Regions from separate parts of the Homo sapiens genome. Here regions 2 and 3 are each linked to region 1. The links are contacts of gene promoters, found by promoter capture Hi-C in human tissues and cell types (Jung and others, 2019). All regions are on one chromosome and are shown on one strand. The core of a region is centred on a gene start or on the middle of the fragment in contact, and the rest is flanking DNA. Distances in the headings are between cores, read along the strand shown. Region 1 holds the start of GUCA2A (guanylate cyclase activator 2A). Region 2 overlaps RIMKLA (ribosomal modification protein rimK like family member A). Region 3 overlaps FOXJ3 (forkhead box J3).

The links. Contacts are between HindIII fragments. The study calls those that stand out against the background at their distance.
Region 2: a contact is called between a fragment that was not itself captured here and the fragment with the promoter of GUCA2A in region 1, in 3 of the 25 tissues and cell types used here (IMR-90 fibroblasts, bladder and dorsolateral prefrontal cortex).
Region 3: a contact is called between a fragment that was not itself captured here and the fragment with the promoter of GUCA2A in region 1, in 1 of the 25 tissues and cell types used here (dorsolateral prefrontal cortex).

What each region holds. Positions count from the first base shown.
Region 1 is chr1:42,162,712-42,166,871 of GRCh38, reverse strand. It overlaps GUCA2A (guanylate cyclase activator 2A), which reads left to right and starts at 2,127. Exons shown (of 3, transcript NM_033553.3): 1 at 2,127-2,234; 2 at 3,262-3,469; 3 at 3,902-4,160. The coding sequence starts at 2,160. The coding sequence ends at 3,966. RefSeq lists an enhancer at 1,303-2,267. The HindIII fragment of the contact is 10,088 bases long and covers 1-4,160 here.
Region 2 is chr1:42,392,021-42,396,180 of GRCh38, reverse strand. The region is part of intron 1 of RIMKLA (ribosomal modification protein rimK like family member A); the gene reads right to left. Among named protein-coding and RNA genes, the nearest start is that of RIMKLA, 13 kb to the right of the region's middle. The HindIII fragment of the contact is 7,595 bases long and covers 1-4,160 here.
Region 3 is chr1:42,312,368-42,316,527 of GRCh38, reverse strand. All of the region lies in intron 1 of FOXJ3 (forkhead box J3), which reads left to right. Among named protein-coding and RNA genes, the nearest start is that of FOXJ3, 21 kb to the left of the region's middle. The HindIII fragment of the contact is 7,614 bases long and covers 1-4,160 here.

The sequences.
Region 1 (4,160 bases), core at 878-3,377:
TCAGTGTATACACACACATCAGCACACACACAGCTCAGCACACACACACACCTCAGCACACACACACACCTCAGTGTATACACACACGTCAGCACACACACACCTCAGCACACATACGCACCTCAGCACACATACGCACCTCAGTGTATACACACACGTCAGCACTCACACACGTCAGCACACACACACCTCAGCGCATACATGCACCTCAGTGTATACACACACCTCGGCACACACACGCACAACACAGCAGATGCACTCAGCTCAGCATACACACACACACCTCAGTGCACATACACACACATATCTCAGTGCATATACACACATGAGCATACACACACACATACCTCAGTGCACATACACACACCCCAGCAGACACCCCAGCAGACACACATCCCAGCAAACACACACACCTCGGTGTACACACACGCGCCTGTGTATATACACACTGACACACACACACCTCGATGTATATATGCACACCTCCTTGCACAGACACAGATACCTTGGTGTACACGGACACACATATACCCCTCAGCATACACACACATACACCTCAGCATATATACACATACACTCCTCAGTGTACACACATGCCTCAGCACACACACACCTTCAGCACAAGCACACATACAAACACACCTTGGCTACACACACCCATCAGGGTATATACAGACACCTTGGCATACACAGACATACACATCTCCGCAGACACACCCCCCCTTAACACACACACACACACACACACACACACACTCACCAGAAAGGGGTGGGAAATCCAGTGCAGCTGTGAGGACTGCCCTGGGAGCTGGGCCAGGAGCTACCTGCCCCTCCCTGAGGGCCTTGTCCCTGCAGTTCCCTCCTGGTCAGGCCCTGCTCTCTCCAATTCCCTCTTCAGTGTTGACTCTCCCCACCCAGGAATTCCTGCCCAACCTCCCGCCCTAGGGCTGTCCTGGCATCGGGCCAGGTTGGCTGAGTAGAAAGATGACAATCCCAGGGCTACCCTTTCTCCTGTGTCCTGGGGATTCCTGCTCACAACAGCACACAGTGAATGCACGCTGCCCTGAGGGCGCAGTCTGAATGGGGTCAGAGTCTATAGGGGCGCGGGCACACCCAAGCAATTCCCCAGTGAGATCCGCGGAAAGGGGACTGTATCTGCAGGGGCAAGGGGGGCGGGCGGATTGGGGAGGAGCTCATTCGAGGACACCCTGAGGCTGCAGGGCAGGCAGGACAGGATGGGGACCAGCACAGGATGGGGACAGCCTGTGACTCAGACAGGCAGGAGGTCACCAGAGGGGCCAGGGAGGACCAGGAGCTGCTGTGGCTGCTAATAATATGGGAATGGACCTCTGCTGAGCACCTTCTGTGTGCCAGGCATTGAGCTAAATGTTTTTAAAACCTCACTTGATTCTCCAAACAGTAATGCCTACCACACACCTACCCCATGAGGTAGGTATTATTTTTGGTTCCCACAGGGGACACAAGGGACAACGAGACTCAGAGAGGGGAAAGCATTGGCCCAAGTTCACACGCCTCACAACTGGGCAGTAGGTGGAACGGAACCCAGGCTGTGCGGAGGGCTTCCTTGAGGTCGCGGCAATCAAACCCAGACCCTGACTTGCCCTGCAGCCTCCCCCGTGGAATTTCTCACATTTCCCTGAATATTCCAGGCCCGTCTCACCTCCTGGCTGTCCCTTTGGCATGAAATGGCCTTCTGTCCTCAGTCCCTTCTCTGGGAAAACTTCCACCCATTCTCCAGAGCTCAGCCCCCAGTGCAGCCCCGTCACCTCATCCTAGGATCACCCCACCCTAATCGCCCTGCGTTTCACTGTCGGGCTGGGCCCCCCTCCTCAAGGGCAGGGTCTGCCGGCCCCACACAGCAGCACAGGGCAGTCGTGAGTGAATGTGCCTTGTTGGTGAATGAATGCAGGACCCAGCCCGGCTGTGGGTCAAAGTAGGTGCTCAGGGAGGGGCCGGGGCCCCCCCTGCCTGGCTCTTATCTCCTAGGGCTGTCTCGAGCCTTATCTGATAAGGCCTGACAGGTGAGCAGATGAGACTGACAGAGGCTTCCAGGTTACTCAGTAACCTGCCCTCTTTAAAAGTCCCGCCGCTTCCCCCTGGCATCCAGAACAGCCACCCCTCTCTCGGGCACTGCTGCCATGAATGCCTTCCTGCTCTCCGCACTGTGCCTCCTTGGGGCCTGGGCCGCCTTGGCAGGAGGGGTCACCGTGCAGGTGAGTCCTGTGTCCCTACCCCGGCCCAGCTGGCTCCCTGCCCCTAGTGCCCAGGTCTGGTCCCCTGAGAGAGTACCTCCTCTTTGGGGCTGGATTGAGGGTGTGTGTCCCAGGCTTGGCCTTCTTCGAGGAGCTCCTGCTCAGTCCAGCCACACACACACCTTTCCCTTCAACTTTGGAGGAGAAAGAAACCCAGTGGAGGGAAGAGGAATAACCATATGGGGAAGGCGGGGAGTTGGCCAATTTACTGAGTGTCCTATGTGCCGGCTCCTTCCCCAGCCCCTCACTGTGGCTCCACTATCAACCTGGAAGAAAGGGATCATTAGTCCCATTTTACAGAGGGGAAAACTGAGCCTCACAAAGGTTCTGTAACAGGCCATGGGCACATGGCTGTGGGAAGTGCAGGAGCTGGATTTAAATCCAGACCTTACTCCTCAGTGGGTCCCAGGAACCACATGGACACCCTGGAGGTCCTGACAGATGGGTATGCCTACCAGTGCCAATGCTGGCGACAGGCCAAGCTGGCACCTAGCGGGGGCCCTGATCTCTATCAAAGCCAGATTCCGGGAGGCCTTTTATTGCTTCTCAAACCAAAACCAGGCTGCAGGCTGGAGCTGGGGGCCCAGTAATCAGCCGCACCGCTCTCAGGCAGGGGAAAGACAGCCTGGGCTTGGCCACGTGGAACTACGATGCCTGGGTGCTGGTCCTTTGCCTCTCCCTAAAAATCAGCACACTGGCTCCTACTCATTAGGCACCTATGGTGTTCCTGGAGCTTCACACCCATTTTCTCCATTCCCCATACAACATGCAGAATTTGCGGGTTCCAGAGTGTCCAGCATCACGGAGCCAAGCCAGGACGTGGGGCCTGAACTCTGCCCCTCACAGTGCCCCACTGTGGATCGCCTGGCTCCCATATGCCACGAACACTGCCTGTGAGCACCACTGGGCTGGACCGGGGCCAGCACGGGGGGCACAGCCAGGAAGCAGGCTGCAGCCTGGCCTCATGCTCTGGGCTTCTCTCTTCCAGGATGGAAATTTCTCCTTTTCTCTGGAGTCAGTGAAGAAGCTCAAAGACCTCCAGGAGCCCCAGGAGCCCAGGGTTGGGAAACTCAGGAACTTTGCACCCATCCCTGGTGAACCTGTGGTTCCCATCCTCTGTAGCAACCCGAACTTTCCAGAAGAACTCAAGCCTCTCTGCAAGGAGCCCAATGCCCAGGAGATACTTCAGAGGCTGGGTGAGCAGCCTCCTTCCTCTCTGATTGGTGGGGTTCGGGAATACTGTGGTGGCACTTGAGGAAGAGATGTGCTCTGATTGGTGGGATTTGGAGGAAGGGCTCAGCTCTGACTGGTGGAACTAGGGAGCTTGGCTCTGATTGGTGGGTCTGTTCCATGCCCACTTCAATTCCAAGTTGTAACTGCTGAGGTTTGGGAACTAAGACCATTCATCTGGTCTTAGTTTCCTCTCTTTCTGGTGGAATCTCTGCTTTGATTGGTTGGTTTGAGTGGTCTGTGTGCCCTGGTTTGGGGCGAAAAGCCCAGTAGGTCAGAGTACGGGCCTGCTGAGATTCTCCTGGGGCTGGGTGGTGACGTACAAGCTCTGGGCCAAGGGCGGCAGGGGCCTCGCGAGGAAATGCTGGTTCTCACGAGGCTCCATCTCTGTTGTGCAGAGGAAATCGCTGAGGACCCGGGCACATGTGAAATCTGTGCCTACGCTGCCTGTACCGGATGCTAGGGGGGCTTGCCCACTGCCTGCCTCCCCTCCGCAGCAGGGAAGCTCTTTTCTCCTGCAGAAAGGGCCACCCATGATACTCCACTCCCAGCAGCTCAACCTACCCTGGTCCAGTCGGGAGGAGCAGCCCGGGGAGGAACTGGGTGACTGGAGGCCTCGCCCCAACACTGTCCTTCCCTGCCACTTCAACCCCCAGC
Region 2 (4,160 bases), core at 1,076-3,575, 230 kb before region 1:
CACTGTAACCTCCACCTCTCAGGTTCAAGTGATTCTCCTGCCTCAGCCTCCCAAGTAGCTGGGATTACAGGTGCCTGCCACCATGCCCGGCTAATTTTTTTTGCATTTTTAGTAGAGAGGGTTTCATCATGTTGGCCAGGCTGGTCTCTTGACCTCAGGTGATCCGCCCGCCTCAGCCTCCCAAAGTGCTGGGATTACAGGCGTGAGCCACCGCCCCCAGCGCTAGCTCTGACATTCTTGCCATGGGCAACTTCACATGCCTCCTGCTCTTTCCCATTGCCACTGCCATCATATTTCTAATAGTAGTAGACAAGAAGCAGCTGCTCATGTGGCTTCAGTGGGAGCAACAGTTATACACAGCCATGGCCAAGGACAATTTGGGTTTAAGGCTGGCCCTCGGCAAAAGGTCTGTAAATTTTGAGACCTTTAACCACTTAAGTAATCTCCTCTCAGGAAAGGACCTAATAAACTTAATACAGGATGGAGCTTAATGTATCACCTCTCCCAGGATCGTTAACATTTCCACTGCAATCTACGGACCTCAAGTCAAGGGAACGAAGAGCTGATGCAGGATATCAGGAAGGACAGGGCTCTGCTTGGTTGCTAGTCAACAGAAGGAAAGCCCTCAACAATCAGAGGCTCATGCCCTCCAAGAAGAGATTTCATGTGATTAAGTACCCTAGTGCTCTTGGGTATCACCCTAACTTGGGGAGAGGGAGAGGCAGCTGAATTGTTTCTGGAATATTTTGGGGTCTCCCAGACTCATGGGGTGGGCTTGAGATTATGTTTAGCCTCAAACCACTTAAAAAAAAAAAAAAAACTAAAACAACCACTCTGTCCCCAAATAGGTCAATGAAATATTAGTGGAAAAAAGATCAAACCTCAAACAAGTTAGGACAGTGACCAACTGCCAACCCAGTTAAAACCAATTTTTTGAAACCAAAACAATATTTTCTCTATGTTCTAAAAAAGAATAATCTACTTTTATGGGTAATTGTGTTCTGATTTCCTTTTGAATTCTCTATTTATATTTGAAAATATTTTGATGTATTAAAAACAAGATAGAAAACCAGGATAACTTTTCCCAAAGAACAGAGTCTGTTTTTTCTAACCCATATACTGGGTTAAATTCTACATAACTAGGCGGGGCACAGTGGCTCTCGCCTGTAATCCCAGCACCTTGGGAGGCCAAGGCGGGTGGATCACCTGAGGTCAGGAGTTTAAGACCAGTCTGGCCAACATGATGAAACCCCGTCTCTACTAAAAATACAAAAATTAGCTGGGCGTGGTGGTGTGCACGCCTGTAATCCCAGCTACTTGGGAGGCTGAGGCAGAAGAATCACTTGAACCCAGGAGGCAGAGGCTGCAGTGAGCTGAGATCGCGTCATTGCACTCCAGCCTGGGCAACAAGAGCGAAACTCCGTCTCAAAAAAAAAAAAAATCTTCATAACTGGACTTACGCATTTGTATGTGCAATAGCGAAGAAATACACTTTATGATAAAGAGAAATAGCTTCAGAAATAAATCTTTATTGGAAAGCAGAGTTCTAAAACTTAACCATTCTCAATCATCATAACAACAGAGGGAAGCAGAGGCATGGATAATAAAAGGTCTTGTAGTTCAGATTTGAATTCGGACAAGATTTTTATTGAGCCTCTATTGCGTTTTAGGTTATTTGCTAAGAACTTTCACACATTATCTCGTTTAAAGTAAAGGTGTCTTATAATACAGATCCTTGGAATTGATTTGACTATAAATGTCTTTGCATTTACACAAAGCCGATACATAATGAGTCATCACCCTCCAACCTGTGCATGCATGTCACTCACATATGTGTGCACACATGTGCATCCTTGGATTCACTAAAGAAAGCTTCAACACCAAACGGATGTCTGGTATGCCAGAAAAAACCTTCATGTACAAAACAAGCAGAAAAATTAAGAAAACAGCAGGATACTAAAGCATGACAGCAAACAAGGACCTCACTTATGGTAGCTTTTAGAACCATTATATTTGAGCAGGATCATGTAACAGTGGCTGGCAGTGAAACTCTGAAAGTTACCAGAAAGGAATCAACTATATAAATAACGTGAATAGGCCAGGCATACTGGCTCACGCCTGTAATCCCAGCACTTCGGAAGGCCGAGGCAGGCAGATCACCTGAGGTCAGGAGATCGAGACCAGGCTGGCCAACATGATGAAACCCTGTCTCTGCCTAAAATACAAAAATTAGTTGGGCGTGGTGGCAGGCGCCTGTAATCCCAGCTACTCAGGAGGCTGAGGCAGGAGAATTGCTTGAACCCGGGAGGCAGAGGTTGCAGTGAGCCGAGATCCCGCCATTGCACTCCAGCCCTGGGGGACAAGAGTGAGACTTTGTCTCAAAAATAAATAAAAAAATAAAAGTGGATAATCCACTTAGCACTTCAGATTATCTTGTGTTGTGAGGAAGATGTGTCATCCAAACATGACTTGGCACACCTCCATCAGTTTCCACCTTTCCCCTTATTTCTTCCTACTCCACCCACAGCATTTTCTCGTAAAACAGTTATTTTTATTTTTAACAAGTAGATGCCACACCCCTCTCCTTCCCTTTTAAAGTTCTTTGTGACAATGCCCAAAGAAAGCTCACCTCCACCTCACTAAAACCCACAGACATTTATGTGGCCATTTTCTCTTTCCACCAACTGTGATTTTGAGGTGATTTAATTCAATTCAACACTTATTGAACTGGTTGGTATGACTCAGACACACTACTAAGCAGGAATACAAAGTTGAACTAGATGGTCTCTGCCTACCAGGAGATTATAGTCTCCTCACAGAGAAAGATACACAACTTAAATATGCATTTTTTTCACTCCTGAAACACATTGATTGTTTCACATATTCATTCAGGGAATATTTATTTAGCACCTACTTTGGGCCAAGCCTAGTGTTAGTTTGGTTTCTGTAGAAGCTCACTCAGACAGGATTTAAGTGCAAGTAGTCTCTCTGGATAGTAATTTCAGGAAATGTTGGGAGGGGCATAGAGAAGGGAATGAGGCAAACAAAACATACTTTATCAAGGGAGTTACCACCTCTCAGCAACCAGAGCTGAATCCTGCTGAGGAACTCTAGGAAATGGCTTAGTACATGCACTTCAGTTATTCCACCTGAGAGGCCAGGGAGTTGACAATTTCAAGTTTTTGTTTTGAGACAGGGTCTTGCTCTGTCATCCAGGCTGGAGTGCAATGGCGCGATCTCGGCTCACTGCAACCCCTGCCTCCCGGGCTCAAGTGATTCTCCTGCCTCAGCTTCCTGAGTAGCTGGGACTACAGGCACGAGCCACCATGCCTGGCTAATTTTTGTATTTTTTGTAGAGACGGGTTTTCACCATATTGCCCAGGCTGGTGTCGAACTTCTGAGCTCAGGTGATCTGTCTGCCTCAGCCTCCCAAAGTGCTGGGATTTCATAAACTCATAATGTCTACCTCTCAGGGTATGAGCCACTATGCCCAGCCAATTTCAAGTGTTTATACATCAACTCAGTTTTTGGTTAAGGCTGCTCCAGGGGCATGGTGTTAATTTCCTGACCCTTCTGGCTTGCCATACATGTGTGGGCAACGTGGGATCCTGTACCAGACAAAGCCCTCTAACAGGTGCAGGTGCTGGTAGTCAGAAGCCGGGCCCTGGTGCAATCAAATGGTAAAAGCCAAAGGGACTGACAGGGAAGGAACAAGCACTGTCTTCTTAAGGGCTGGGCATGGGAGTTGACAGGTGTGAGTAAAACAAACAATATCCCTGGAATTTAAGAAGACAGACAACACACAGTTGTTATTAATGCTGTTAATGTTCTGTGTAGAGCACCTGGGTCTTGTTGAGCAGGGGGAGGGAGAGGAGACTGACTGTAACACAATGTGCTAAGTGCTCCAACAGACCTACATCAGGGTCCAGGGAGAGCAAAGGAGGAGGGAGCAGTTAGGATGATTATCTCTGCCTGGGGAGAGAGAAAAATCAAGGAAAGTTTCAGAAAGGAAATGTTGACACCTCATGCCTCTAAACTCTGAAGAAATGTGGAAAACTAATAAATTCATAATCTCTACCTCTCAAACAAATCAATAGTAAGACATTGCATCTTATAGGCACTGAGTTCAAGAATGTCTCAAGGCTAAAGTAACTCCTTGG
Region 3 (4,160 bases), core at 619-3,118, 150 kb before region 1:
ATAAAGCATTGCATTTCTGTGTAGGTGGGAGAGGGGAGAGAGCTCGTAAGTATTTCGAGCTGGGTGTGATGACTCATGCCTGTAATCCCAGTGCTTTGGGAGGCTGAGGTGAGAGGATCATTTGAGGCCAGGAGTTTGACATCAGTTTGGACAACACAGCAAGACCTTGTTTCTACAGAAAAAAAAAAAAAAAAGGCCCAATGCAGTGGTGTGCACCTGTGGTCCCAGGTACTAGGAAGGCTGAAGCAAGAGGTTTGCTTGAGCTCAGAAGTTCGAGGCTGCAGTGAGCTATCATCTGGCCACTGTACTCCAGCCTGGGCAACAAAGCAAGACTCTGTCTCTTAAAAACAAAACGAACTTATTCAGAGCTTTTTCAAAATACTTAGTTCTATTTCACTCCATGCCCCCAGATAATATGTTATTATACAACTGTTAGTGTGTTGCGATGGCTGCTTCCTAAATGTGGATAGTTTGTAACTCAGTTTAATGTACACTTGAATACTGCTTATGTTAAAAGAAATTCCATGCTTTTCTGTTGGTAATGGAATATAATACAGTAAATAGCTTGTATTGCAGCATACTCATTAGCTAATGCCTGGCTTTTAGTACTCATTCTGGTTGTGTCATTCTACTCTTTCTTGATACATATTAGTTTTCAAAAGATTTGGAGATTTATGCTGTAGGCACCAAATAAAACCATGTAAATAAATTATGGATGTAACTGAATGAGTTAATATAGTTGTTCAACTACAGTTGATGCCACAGAGATTTGTTTGTGACTTGGAGGACTTTGAAATTTCCTGACTTCAATGTGAACCTTAGCCTTCTTTTGTGAGATTTCCCTGTTGCTGTTCAGTTGCCTGGGTAGGGAGAAGACTGATATATGTTTGTTCTTTCAGTCAACAAGGCTAGGGTTCAGGACGTCATTTAAGGACGGTAATCTAGAGGAAAAATGAATAACACTGGAACTAAAGCATTGAAGCTAGAGCAGATTGGAAAGATAACTAGAAGTTAGAATTTGATAGTAAATGGTAACTTATTGGAGGTACTAAGGGTGTTGGTGTTTGGACAGTTTAGTATGAGATCATTTTCCCTTGCCTGAGTTTTGAGCTGATTGAGAAATAAGAACCTACAGATGAAGAAGCAAGACAGTACCTTTAAAAAAATTAGCTTTTTATTCAGGTAAAAATCACATACTGTGAAGTTCACCATTTTAAAGTGTACAATTCAGTAGTTTTTAATGTATTCACAAAGTTGTGCAACCATTACCACTATCAATTAGGCCATTTTCATCACTCTAAAAAGAAACCTCCTAGCAGTCACTTCCCATCTGCAATCTTCCTCTCTTCCCCCATCTCCTGGCAACCACCAATCTACTTTTCATTTCTATAGATTTGCCAGTTCTGGACATTTCGTATAAATGGAATCATACAGCATGTGGTCTTTTGTGTCGTTTTCACTTAGCATGAGGCTTTCAAGGTTCATTTATGTGGTAGCATGTAAAAGTACTTCATTCCTTTTTATGGCTGAATAAAGTTGCATTGTATATTTTATGGCTGTTACTTAGATAAACCATACTTTGTTTATCTGTTCATTAGTTGACAAACATTTGGGTTATTTTCACTTACTGGCTTTATGAGTAGTGCTGCACATTTGTGTGCAAATGATCATTTGTGTGCATGTTTTTGTAGGAACATTTAAATTCTCTTGGAGATGTATATGCTTATAATTGCTGGGTTTTATGGTAACTCTGTGTTTAACTTTCAAAGGAGTTGCCTTTGTTTTTGATAAAACCTATATTGTAGAACGTGACTTAGGTTTAAGAGCCAAATGAGTTGGCTGACTTTCTGCAGCCCCTCATGCCCATCTGTCAGTGGGACAGTGCACCCTAGAGGATGTTTGGGTCAGCAGAGCAGACACACTCAGATCATTGCCTTGTAGAATCCTGGATGGAGAGTGAAAAGAAAGAGACTGAGGGCTGGGCGTGGTGCCTCACGCCTGTAATCCCAGCACTTTGGGATCCTAACCGAGGCAGGTGGATCACCTGAGGTCAGCAGTTCAAGACCAGCCTGACCAACATGGTGAAACCCCCTCTACTAAATACAGAAAAGTAGCCAGACATGGTGGTGCATGCCTGTAATCCTATCTACTTGAGAGGCTGAGACAGGAGAATTGGTTGAACCCAGGAGGCAGAGGTTGCAGTGAGCCGAGTTGGCGCCATTGCCCTCCAGCCTGGGCAGCAAGAGTGAAAACTCCGTCTCAGAAAAATAAAAAGATTCTGAGTCCCTGGTACTCAGTTCTTTTGTTAAGTTAGCTCTATGTACTAACCAGTTTACCTCTTTGGAGAGGAATGGGCTAAGAGGCCAGGAGTGTTTACTGAAGTAATTCCTCATAGAGACTAAGAGTTGGAAAAAAAATTAGTCTGCTCTAACAAAGAGTAAGAGTTAAGCTAGAAACCTGAAAGCCATTCTTAGATGAAAAGGCTGTGCCATTTTATCCAGGAAGGAAGTATATTAAGAGAAGATGATGAATTCAGTTTTAAACATGGTAAATTTGGGATTTCCAGGAGGGAATGTTAGATATTTGTTTGGAGATTAGGAGATTGATCTCTGCTAGAGATGAAGATTTGAGATCTATCTACCTTCAGGCAATTAAAATACAAGACTAGGTAAATCACACATAAAACAGTAAAGAAGTATGTCTAGTAATTTTTTTTCTTTTAAATAAAGAAAGCTGCTCTGCTGTGTACGAAACCATGACCCAGAGGCAGGTTGTCTGTGAGTGGTTTAGCGCCAGGTTCCCCACGAAAGTGTGTTCCGTGACAGGCAAGGGGACGGCTGCCTTTTTAGCCACACCCCATTTCCCAGGACGAGGGGCAGTCCACACTGGACCCTGGTCCCAAGGATGTCTAGTAACTTCTATATCTGCATTCCTTGTGGTTTATTGTGCTAACTGATGTTTCTGCTGTATTTTGCTGTGAGTGGCTGATTTCCTTCTGGGTTTTGTGATTTTTAGTTATGAATACATTTATTTTGAGATCTTACCTGTGGGAATTTTTCCAGGCTTAGGTCAAAGGTGATTTCCTCCAGAGAGAACGTACATTTGCTTCTGTCAAGATTGGGTGGGGGATACAACCATCCTAGGGCTACCCTAAACACAATTCTAGGTATGAAGCTTTTTTTTTTTTTTTGAGACGGAATTTTGCTCTTATTGCCTAGGCTGGAGTGCAGTGGTGTGATCTTGGCTCACTGCAACCTCTGCCTCCCAGGTTCAAGCGATTCTCCTGTCTCAGCCTCCCAAGTAGCTGGGATTACAGGCACATGCCACCATGCCCGGCTAAATTTTTTGTATTTTCAGTAGAGATGGGGTTTCATCATATTGGTCAGGCTGGTCTCAAACTTCTGACCTCAGGTGATCCGGCCGCCTCGGCCTCCCAAAGTGCTGGGATTACAGGTATGAGCCACTGCGCCCAGCCGGTATGAAGGTTTTAAAACCATAATCTAGGGGAAGATCAGCTTGTGGTTGTGAAATATCAGGGAAGACACCCTTGCACTGCTGTCACAGTCCCTGATCCCCTCCCAGCACTAAGTGCTGTGGTTAAAAAAGTAGTTTTCCTGGCAGTTTTCTTGGTTAAGAACTGAACATTGCTGCTGTCATAGTCCTGGATCCCCTCACCAGCCCTAAGTGCTAAGGTTAAAAAAGCAGTTTTCCTGGCAGTTCTCTTGGTTAAGATCTGAACGTTGTTGCATCTTGTACATTGTGTCCCACAAGGTCTTGGAATTGCAAGCCAGAATTCATAGTGCTTGGCATAATGCCCTAAAGGTGAAGGAAAGCTATTGTCAGTACTCTGCATACCTTTCTAGTTTCCACTGTTTCACCTAGTTTTTGGATTCTGATCATACCTCATTTTCTGTCAAGTTTTTGATTTATATGTAAAGATTTTAAGATACTTTACTCAGCATTTTCGTTATTTTCAGTGGTTACGAGATTGAGCCATCCACCCTGTCATTCTGGAAGAAATAGAAGTGTCTATCTGCGTCTCTCTTCAGTGTATGCAGGGATAATTATTAGATGCAGGGACTTCAATCACCTTCTAAACCAAAGGTTACAAACTTGCAGCAAAATCCAGTTTCTGTTTGGCCTACATAGTATTTAGGAAA